Linked DNA regions of Homo sapiens: region 1 is linked to region 2. Evidence: promoter capture Hi-C in 16 types of primary human blood cells and fetal thymus (Javierre and others, 2016). All regions are on one chromosome and are shown on one strand. Each heading gives the region's core, a stretch centred on a gene start or on the middle of the fragment in contact. The rest is flanking DNA. Distances are from core to core; before and after follow the strand shown. Region 1 overlaps MTHFR (methylenetetrahydrofolate reductase). Region 2 holds the start of PLOD1 (procollagen-lysine,2-oxoglutarate 5-dioxygenase 1).

What was found. Contacts are between HindIII fragments. The CHiCAGO score rates a contact against its expected background, and 5 or more counts as called.
Region 1: a contact is called between a fragment that was not itself captured here and the fragment with the promoter of PLOD1 in region 2, in 1 of 17 cell types (neutrophils). The highest score is 5.3, in neutrophils.

What each region holds. Positions count from the first base shown.
Region 1 is chr1:11,795,073-11,799,606 of GRCh38, reverse strand. MTHFR (methylenetetrahydrofolate reductase) reads left to right here. Exons shown (of 12, transcript NM_005957.5): 5 at 3,208-3,401; 6 at 4,259-4,509. Among named protein-coding and RNA genes, the nearest start is that of MTHFR, 8.6 kb to the left of the region's middle. The HindIII fragment of the contact is 888 bases long and covers 2,841-3,728 here.
Region 2 is chr1:11,931,064-11,937,090 of GRCh38, reverse strand. It overlaps PLOD1 (procollagen-lysine,2-oxoglutarate 5-dioxygenase 1), which reads right to left and starts at 2,374. Exons shown (of 19, transcript NM_000302.4): 1 at 2,236-2,374. The coding sequence starts at 2,311. RefSeq lists a silencer at 2,096-2,565 and enhancers at 1,742-2,665, 2,786-2,835, 2,666-3,591. The HindIII fragment of the contact is 16,832 bases long and covers 1-6,027 here.

The DNA.
Region 1 (4,534 bases), core at 2,035-4,534, 140 kb after region 2:
CTAACAGGATTCCAGAGGGCAGGGAACCCAAGATCAGGAGATGGCCTCAGACCTCACAAGGCACTGGAAGAGGTCAAAAAGCAAGGCCCTCCCTCATTCCCTCTGGGGCCACAGGGTCCCCCATCTCCGCTTCCCACTGCACATCTGTGCTTCATCTGGGAGACCTGATACCCATGCTTTTCCACACACCTGGCCTGCTCCTGAGTGTGCAGAGTGTCAGTTCCAGCCAGTTCCCCAGGCTAATGGACAGGCCTCCGTTCCAAATTCCCAGGAAAGAGAATCACCATTGGCCACAGCCACAAGACCAGGTTCCCCCAACAGAAATGGGTGGGTTGGACTTCTCTCCCACCCTTGAAGCTGAAGGCTGGCATTGAGCCCTCAGCGTCTCAGACAGCGCTCAGGTATGGCAAGACAGTGTGCACCAGGGACAGGAAGTCCCGGGATTGGCACATTTTCTGGGATGACAGTTTTTTTGCCAATATTCTGGGAGAAATCCTACCATTTTTATATTAAACATGGCTATGTTATGGAGTAGCATCTAAAGTGATATGAACTAAAAAAAAAAGGCCAGGTGCGGTGGCTGAAGCCTATAATCCCAGCACTTTGGGAGGCCAAGGCGGGTGGATCATGAGATCAGGAGTTTGAGACCATCCTGTCCAACATAGTGAAACCCCGTCTCTACTAAAAATACAAAAATTAGCCGGGCATGGTGGCGCGTGCCTGTAGTCCCAGCTACTTGGTAGGCTGAGGCAGGAGAATCGCTTGAACCCAGGAGGCGGAGCTTGCAGTGAGCCGAGATCGCACCAATGCACTGTAGCCTGGGCAACAGAGCCAGACTCCGTCTCAAAAAAAACAAAACAAAAAACCCAAAAAACAAACCACGTGGCTTCAAGAAAATTACATGTTGTGAGTAACTTTGGCCTTGTCCCTAACCCCCGATGGACATGTCCATTCTGTCAACAGGGGTGTTTAGGTGCTAAGTCTGGGAAGCACTGATTAGGAGTCAGAGAACAGACATTTCCAACTGTTAAATTGTCATCGCTTGTATCAGCCATTATATAGTCAGTTACTGGGGGAATATGCACCCGTGATGGGCGTTAGGTGATAATGATTGGAAACTAGTGAAGCTGTGAGCTCACAGTTGCTGAATGGTTTCTTACTTTGCTTATCAAGTGGGTAATGAAGATGAGTGGATTAGAAAACACCAACCTGTTGGGCATGGTAGCTCATGCCTGTAATCCCAGAGCTTTGGGAGACTGAGGCAGGAGATCAAGACCAGCCTGGGCAACACAGTGAGACCGTGTCTCTACAAAAAATAAAAACATTTTAAAAAAGAAAGCCCTCAGCTGTTCATGATAGAAAAATAGAGTAAATAGCAAAATCTATACGTAATCAAATGCTAGATTTGTTCGGTGATATTTAGGTATTGTAGCTATACTTTTCAGCTATTAAAAAGCCTTGTTGTTTCTGAAATTCCTACTGGGAAAATAGCTTTGTTATTGCAAGTGTGAAGCCCCATTGCTTTATCCCCCACTCCCTTACCCCTTGAAACAATAGTTTTTATATTCATTTTTTGATGACTCTGGGTTTCTTAAGAACGGAACTGCCTTATCAGAGCAAAGCAGCTTGGCCTTCCGCCTGGCTCAGAGTCCTGCCCTGGGCTTGGGCTGATGAAACCAGCACTCCATGTAGTTTCATGAAGGCCTATGGTCATCCTGCTTGCCTGACCGAGCAAGGCGGCTAGTAAGTTTAGTCATTGAGGAAAGGGGTCAGAGAGTTCACAGAGCCAGTAAGGAGCCTATGGGACATCTGATCCCACCTCCTAAGCAATTCTGGAATCTTGTCTTCAGCATCCACTGCCCCTGTGTTTTCAGACTCCAGGAGCTCATTGTTTTGTGAGTGGCTTATAGTACTCTAGCCAGCTCTCTGAACCGGATGCTGGTTCTGCCATTAGAAACAACACAGAATATGACTAATAAAGAACTTCACTAGGGGGCTGGGTACAGTGGCTCATGCCTGTAATCTCAGCACTTTGGGAGGCCAAGGTGGGAGGATTGCTTGAGCCCAGAAGTTCCAGACAAACCTGGACAAGATAGCAAGACCCCATCTCTAAAAAATAAATAATTAATTAAAAAAATTTTTTTTAATTAGCCAGATGTGGTGGCTTGCATCTGTAGTCCAAGCTACTCAGGAGACTGAAGTGGGAGATCACTTGTGCCCGGGAGTTCAAGGCTACAGTGAGCCATGATTGTATCACTGCACTCTAGCCTGGGTGACAGAGCAAGACCCTGTCTCTGAAACAAAACAAAACAAACTCACCTATGGTGGATCCTTTTTCCCCAGGACAGACCTTTGGACATTTGAAAGGAGTTTCTGTATTCTTTTCATTCTTTTTTTTTTTTTTTTTTTTGAGACGGAGTTTCGCTCTCGTTGCCCAGGCTAGAGTGCAATGGTACGATCTCGGCTCACTGCAACCTCTGTCTCGTGGGTTCAAGCAATTTTCCTGACTCAGCCTCCTGAGTAGCTATTACAGGCATACACCACCACACCTGGCTAATTTTTGTATTTTTGGTAGAGACGGGGTTTTACCATGTTGGCCAGGCTGGTCTCGAACTCCTGACCTCAGGTCATCCTCCTGCCTTGGCCTCCCAAAGTGCTGGGATTACAGACATGAGCCACCGCACCCTGCCATCCATTATTTTCTTTGAAGAAAACATCACTTTCTTCAGTTCTTCCTTGTGTAACTTGGTTTTTAGCTTTTCACTATCTTGGACCCCTGAGTAATTTCAGTGTTACATTAAAAACAATGTTTAATCCGGTGCCTAGAGAAAAGTCAAGCTTACTACCCCAGATGCTGCCCAGCCAGTGCTAACTGTAGCATTTTCTCTTTTCTATGGCCACCAAGTGCAGGCCTGATTTGCTTGGCTGCTCAAGGCAGGACAGTGTGGGAGTTTGGAGCAATCCACCCCCACTCTTGGAACTGGGCTCTGAGCCACCTCCCCTGAGAGTCATCTCTGGGGTCAGAAGCATATCAGTCATGAGCCCAGCCACTCACTGTTTTAGTTCAGGCTGTGCTGTGCTGTTGGAAGGTGCAAGATCAGAGCCCCCAAAGCAGAGGACTCTCTCTGCCCAGTCCCTGTGGTCTCTTCATCCCTCGCCTTGAACAGGTGGAGGCCAGCCTCTCCTGACTGTCATCCCTATTGGCAGGTTACCCCAAAGGCCACCCCGAAGCAGGGAGCTTTGAGGCTGACCTGAAGCACTTGAAGGAGAAGGTGTCTGCGGGAGCCGATTTCATCATCACGCAGCTTTTCTTTGAGGCTGACACATTCTTCCGCTTTGTGAAGGCATGCACCGACATGGGCATCACTTGCCCCATCGTCCCCGGGATCTTTCCCATCCAGGTGAGGGGCCCAGGAGAGCCCATAAGCTCCCTCCACCCCACTCTCACCGCACCGTCCTCGCACAGGCTGGGGGCTCTGGGTGGAGTGCTGAGTTCGCTGAGTTCTTCCCAGATCTCCTCTCAGGTCCAGAACTTGCACAGCGTTGCTTGGCCACCCCATTTTGGTTACCTCTAATTTTCCCCCCAAAACCCAGCAACAGTGTCTGTTGAGGGGTTTGTTGTACTTTGGCCAACAAGCATCACCAAAAGGGATTCTAATTCTCATTACAAATCCTGCTTAAATCAGTGTTTCCCAAAGGTGGCTGTCATCAGAACCACTTGATAAGCTTTTTCAAAAAGTGGATCTCCAGGTCCCACCCCTGGAGGTTCTCACTCAGTAAATCTGAGGGAGGTCCTCGGAATGTGTGTTTTACTTCTTGAGCTTGGCAGGTGATTCGGATGATCAGTGCAGCATGGGAACAGCTGGGTTAGATGACACCATGTTACCAACAGACACATCTAGGGCTAAAAGGCTGGCTCAACCCAAGGCTGGAATGCTTAGGGCAGCTGCTCTACTCTGTAAAAAGTGGGAAAGCTGGGCATAGTGGCACGTGCCTGTAGTCCCGGCTACTTGAGAAGCTGAGGCAGGAGGATGGCTTGAGCCCTGGCGTTTGAGAGCAGTGAGACTCAGTCTCTAAAAACAGAAAAAAGAGGAGAAAACGGCAGGCCAAGCCCAGGTGTGCTCCTAGAATATGATCGGACTTTCGTGGGTCCCTCTGCCTGACACTGTGGTTGGCATGGATGATGGAAGGGGGAGAAGTATTTAGGGTGGGAGACGGGCTGGCCAGCAGCCGCCACAGCCCCTCATGTCTTGGACAGGGCTACCACTCCCTTCGGCAGCTTGTGAAGCTGTCCAAGCTGGAGGTGCCACAGGAGATCAAGGACGTGATTGAGCCAATCAAAGACAACGATGCTGCCATCCGCAACTATGGCATCGAGCTGGCCGTGAGCCTGTGCCAGGAGCTTCTGGCCAGTGGCTTGGTGCCAGGCCTCCACTTCTACACCCTCAACCGCGAGATGGCTACCACAGAGGTGCTGAAGCGCCTGGGGATGTGGACTGAGGACCCCAGGTGAGGGCAGTGGCCCAGAGATCCC
Region 2 (6,027 bases), core at 1,125-3,624:
GGATCACCTGAGATCAAGAGTTTGAAACCAGCCTGACCAACATGGTGAAACCCCGTCTCTACTAAAAATACAAACATTAGCTGAGCGTTGTGGCATCCGCCTGTAATCCCAGCCACTAGGGAGATTGAGGCAGGAGAATCGCTTGAACCTGGGAGGCGGAGGTTGCAGTGAGCTGAGATCGCACCATTGGACTCCAGCCTGGGCAACGGGAGTGAAACTCTGCCTCAAAAAAAAAAAAAGAAAGAAAAGAAAAGAAATGGTGGTTCCTGGCTGGGTGCAGTGGCTCCCACCTGTAATCCCAGCACTTTGGGAGGCCGAGGCAGGAGGATCACTTGAGGTCAGGAGTTTGAAACCAGCCTGGCCAACATGGCGAAACCTCGTCTCTTCTAAAGATACAAAAATTAGCTGGGCGTGGTGGTGCAGGCCTGTAATCCCAGCTACTTGGGAGGCTGACGCACGAGAATTGCTTGAACCCAGGAGACAGAGGTTGCAGTGAGCCAAGGTCATGCTACTGCACTCCAGCCTGGGGGACACAGTGAAACACTGTCTCAAAAAAAAATTAAATAAATAAAATAAAATAAATGGTGGTTCCCATTCCTGACCCAAAGAACCCGGGATCCTTCTGGTGATACAGTTTCAGGTTCTCCAGGAGGGTAAGCTGAAGGAGGAGAATGCCATGGAAAGTACCGCCACTTCTGCTTGGCTTTGCTGGGACTGTCCGCAGTCTATGCCCTTCTCGGGACAGCCCTGGAGATGGCCCATGCCAGGGAGGGCTGGGGAGGAGGGAAGCACCCACTCAGGACAGTGGGGCACACACTGCAATCCAATCTGCCTTGAGGAAGTAGAAAGAGCGCTAGACTGGAGCCCAGCTGACCTCGGACCAACCACCTCTGTCTGGACCACCCTGGACAGTCACTTCACCTGTCTGGGCCTCAGTTTCCTCAAGTATAAACTGCAGAGAGGGCCAGGTGTGGTGGCTCACGCCTGTAATCCCAACACTTTGGGAGACCAAGGTGGGCTGATCACCTGAGGTCAAGAGTTCAAGACCAGCCTGGCCAACATGGTGAAACCCCATCTCCACCAAAAATACAAAAATTAGCTGGGCATGGTGGCACATGTCTGTGATCCCACCTACCTGGGAGGCTGAGGTACAGGAGTCGCTTGAACCGGCCGGGCGCGATGGCTCACGCCTGTAATCCAAACATTTTGGGAGGCTGAGGCCAGCGGATCAAGAGGTCAGAAGTTCAAGACCAGCCTGGCCAGCATGGTGAAACCCCATCTCAACTAAAAATACAAAAATTAGCTAGGCATGGTGGCACGTGCCTGTAATCCCAGCTACTTGGGAGGCCGAGGCAGGAGAAACACTTGAACCTGGGAGGTGGAGGTTGCAGTGAGCTGAGATTGTGCCACTGCATTCCAGCCTGGGCGACAGAGCGAGACTCCATCTCAAAAAAAAAAAAAAGAATTGCTTTTACCTGGGAGGCAGAGGTTGCAGTAAGCCGAGATCGCATACTGCGTTCCAGCCTGGGCGACAGAGCAAGACTCTGTCTCAAAAATAAATAAATAACTAAATAAATAATACATTAAGTAAAATAAAAAAAATAAACTGCAGAGAGGAAGACCACCCTGGCAGGGGCTAAGCAGACCACAGGGGACATGGATGAAAGCACAAACTTATCCACAAAGTGAGCCACACCTTCTACCCCCATTCCTCCCCTGTCCCCCTCAAGACCCCTCATTCCCATGGTCATGAGGCCTCCTGGCTCTGGAACCAGACACCTGGGTGGGTGGGGTAAATCCTGGTTCCAAGGCCCACAAGTTGTATGATCTTGGGCAAGTGAATGAACTCTGGAGCCTCAGTTTGCCCAGCTGGAAAACGGGGATAATAGAAGGAAACACTTACCAGGGTAGCAATCATGCCTAACTGATGCCTGGCCCATAGTGAGCACTGGGCAGAATAGCCATTGTCGGTTATTATTATGAAAACTATTATTATTTGAGCCTTTCTGTGCTGAATGGGACTCAGCTGTCACCCTTTCCTTCCCGAAGCAGGAACCGCAGCCCCAAGAGGGGAAGTGATTTGTTCAAGTCACCAGCGATTAAGTGGACAAGGAGCCGGAACCCAGACTCCCTCTCCAGCCCAGGCCTCCCATTCAGGTCGTTCCCAGGGAGGCAGCCCGACACCAGCCCTCCCGCCCGGATCCGCGCTCCCGCCCCCGGCCTTCGCTCCCTCACCCTCCGGCTTGGCGTCGCCCTTCGCTTCGGCCAGCAGCAGCCAGCCCAGCAGGGCCAGTAGCAGCAGGGGCCGCATGGCCGAGGTATGGGGGACGATCGGCCGACCCGGCGGCGCTCGCAGGGCTGGAAACTTCGCGACGGGGCCGCAGGTCCCGCTGCCACGCACTGGGCCCGCCCCGGGGGCGGCACCACCCCGCCCCTCCACGCCCTCCCCCGCGCCTGCCTAGTGGGGAAGGGTTTTTCTGCAGATATGCCCAAGTCCGGGCCTCTCCTTATTAGGGCAGCTCCCTCCGCCTCTCTGTGCAGCTCCCGGGGCTTCCGTCAGGCCCTGCCGTCTCCCTCCCTTCTCTGGGGGGTTCACTCCGACCAGAAAGAGGGCGGTGAGAGGAGAGAGAGGCCACGATTTCTAGACCCCAGGTTCTGGGCCAAGGCTCCATGGCATCGATAGCCACGAGCCCCTGTTTGCTCGCCTGAAAAGTGGGGCTTATGATAGCGTCTGTTCATTGGGTCTTGCACGGGTTAATGGCGTTACCTGTAGCGCACTTAGAGCAGCCCCAGGTCAAGCCCCAAGGAAGTCAGTTTTCATGATTTCATTAGTCCTTCCCAAAACCCAAGGGGTGAGGGTGGGCACGGATGCGTTCAGAGACACGGACACCCCTACGTGGCCCACCCAGGCACTGGAAATGCAGGAAGCCCGTCTCCACTCTCCCCAAAAGGCAATCACTTGATCTCCCTTTGTGTCCCTGGGAGGCAAACCTCTGAGCCAAGGAAAGTCTTGCTTCTGAGGTTTTTTTGTTTTTTGTTTTTTTTTTTTCATTTTTTTGAGACAAGGTTGCTTTCAGTTGCCCAGGCTGGAGTGCAGTGGCGTGATCACCGCTTGCTGCAGCCTCGACCTCCCGGGCTCAAGCGATCCTCCCATCTCAGCCTCCCAAGTAGGTGGGATCACAGGCCTGAGCCACCATCCCTGGCTAATTTTTCTACCTTTTTTTTGAGACAGAGTTTCACTCTTGTTGCCCAGGCTGGAGTGCAACGGCGAGATCTGGGGTCACGGCAACCTCCGCCTCCCGGGTTCAAGCAATTCTCCTGCCTCAGCCTCCCGAGTAGCTGGGATTACAGGCATGTGCCACCATGCCCAGCTAATTTTGTATTTTTAGTAGAGGTGGGGTTTCTCCATGTTGGTCAGGCTGGTCTTGAACTCCCACCCTCAGATGATCCACCCGCCTTGGCCTCCCAAAGTGCTGGGATTACAGGCTGAGCCACCACACCCTAGAGAGATTAATTGTTAAATGAGTAAACGAATCGATGAAAGTTTTTAGGGCCTCTTCACAGATACCCAAAGCCCAACAAACAACTCAACGGTCTCTAGAGTAAGGGCTCCTGGACCAGATGTCAGACAGGGGCAGCCACCTCTGAACAAAAATCCTTCCTTCCTTGGAAGAAACCTCAGACAGAGGCCGGGCACGGTGGCTCACACCTGTAATCCCAGCACTTTGGGAGGCTGAGGCGAGCGGATCACAAGGTCAGGAGTTCAAGACCAGCTTGACCAACATGGTGAAACTCTGTCTCTACTAAAATACAAAAATTAGCCAGGCGTGGTGGCGCGCGCCTGTAATCCCAGCTACTCAGGAGGCTGAGGCAGTAGAATCACTTGAACCCAGGAGACTGAGTTTGCAGTGAGCCAAGATTGAACCACTGCACTCCAGCCTAGGCGACAGAGCGAAACTCTGTCTCAAAAAAAAAAAAAAAGAAAAAAAAGACCTTAGACAGGGACCCAGGAGCCTTCTCCCAGCTGATTAGGCTCCAGAGGAGTGGGTGGCAGGTGTAACCCTAGGCTGGCAGGGGGTTCCCTGCAGGGGGCAAAGGGGTGGGAGAGAAGGAATGTCACGAATGTCAATGGACGACAAAGAGCAGGCTATGCGTCTGTGCTGGGAAAAGATATTAATAAATCAACAGCATTCAGATGAGCTGGGTGCGGTGGTTCATGCCTGTAATCCCAGTACTTTGGGAGGCCAAGACAGCCAGATTGCTTGAGCCCAGGAATTCAAGACCAGCCTGGGCAACATGGTGAAACCCCTTCTTTACTAAAAAAACAAAAATTAGCTGGGCATGGTGGCATGTGCCTGTAGTCCCAGCTATTCAGGAGGCTGACTGGGGAGGATCACTTGAGCCCGGGAGGTGGAGGTTGCAGTGAGCCATGATCACACCGCTGCACTCCAGCCTGGGCAAGAGAGTCAGAACCTGCCTCAAAAAAAACAAACAAACCAAAAAATAAAAATAAAAACAAAATAGCATTCAGATGCTGCAGCCAGAGAAATACACTACCCATATGATGTTAAGTGGAAAAGCAGAATATATAGTATGGTTCCACTCAGTAAAAATACCTTCTTTTTTTTTTTTTTTGAGATGGAGTCTCACTGTATAGCCCAGGTTGGAGTGCAGTGGCACAATCTCAGCTCACTGCAACCTCCGCCTCCCTGGTTCAAGCAATTCTTTGCCTCAGCCTTCCGAGTAGCTGGGATTACAGGTGCCTGCCACCATGCCTGGCTCATTTTTGTATTTTTAGTAGAGATGAGGTTTCACCATCTTGGCCAGGCTGGTCTTGAACTCCTGACCTCGTGATCCACCAGCCTCGGCCTCCCAAAGTGTTGGGATTATAGGCGTGAGCCATCGCGCCCAGCCAAAAATATATTCTTATCGATGTATACATGCATAGAGACAATGCTAGGAGAAAATTATGGCCAAATATTTACTGTGATTATTTCCAGGTTGTGGGATTATTTCATATTTATATAGACAATTTTTGATGTTTTATATTATTTCCAAGTATTTATTTTGTTATTTATATTTTTCTTTTTTTTTCAATAAATATATACTATTTGTAAAATTCAAACAAAATCGGCGGGGCATGGTGGCTTATGCCTGTAATACCAGCCCTTTGGGAGGTGGAGGCAGGCAGATCACCAGACGTCGGGATTTCAAGACCAGCCTGACCAACATGGAGAAACCCTGTCTCTACCAAAAATACAAAATTATCTGGGCATGGTGGCGCATTCCTGTAATCCCAGCTACTTGGGAGGCTGAGGCAGGAGAATTTCTTGAGCCTGGAAGGCGGAGATTGCAGTGAGCCGAGATCGCACCATTGCACTCTAGCCTGGGCAACAAGAGCAAAACTCCGTCTTGAAAAAATATATATATATATTCAAACAAAATCAATACATGCTATTTTTAGAATATAGGTCCAGGCCGGCACAGAGACTCATGCCTGTAATCCCAGCACTTCGGGAGGCCAAGGCAGGAGGACTGCTTGGGCCCAGGAGTTCCAGACCAGCCTGGACACTATAGCAAAACCCTTCCCCCATCTCTATTAAAAAAACAAAGATAGAGTCAGTCACTGGGAACCTTGGAAATCATCTCATTGTGTGGAAATCATCTCATTGTATGGAGATGTGCTCATTGCACAGATAGCACAAGTGATATCCATAGGCATGGGGCAGCAAGCTCAAGGTCCCAAGGCAAGTAAAAGGAAGAGGCCTGAGCAGAATCCAGGGCCCCTACCTCCCAGCTGGGATCCAGGGCTGGGAGTTTCAGCATCTGGAGACAGGACTTGGTGCCAGAATCCACCGGATGTTTTGGATTCAGGAGGATGCAGACTCAGACTCCAGACCCCTGGAGGAAGAGGAAATGCCAGGAGGAGCAGAGGGAGGAGAATGAGCATTTGTTGGCTGGTTCCATGTTCTCTTTTTTTTTGAGACAGGGTCTCACTTTGCTGCCCAGGCTGGAGTGCAGTGGTGT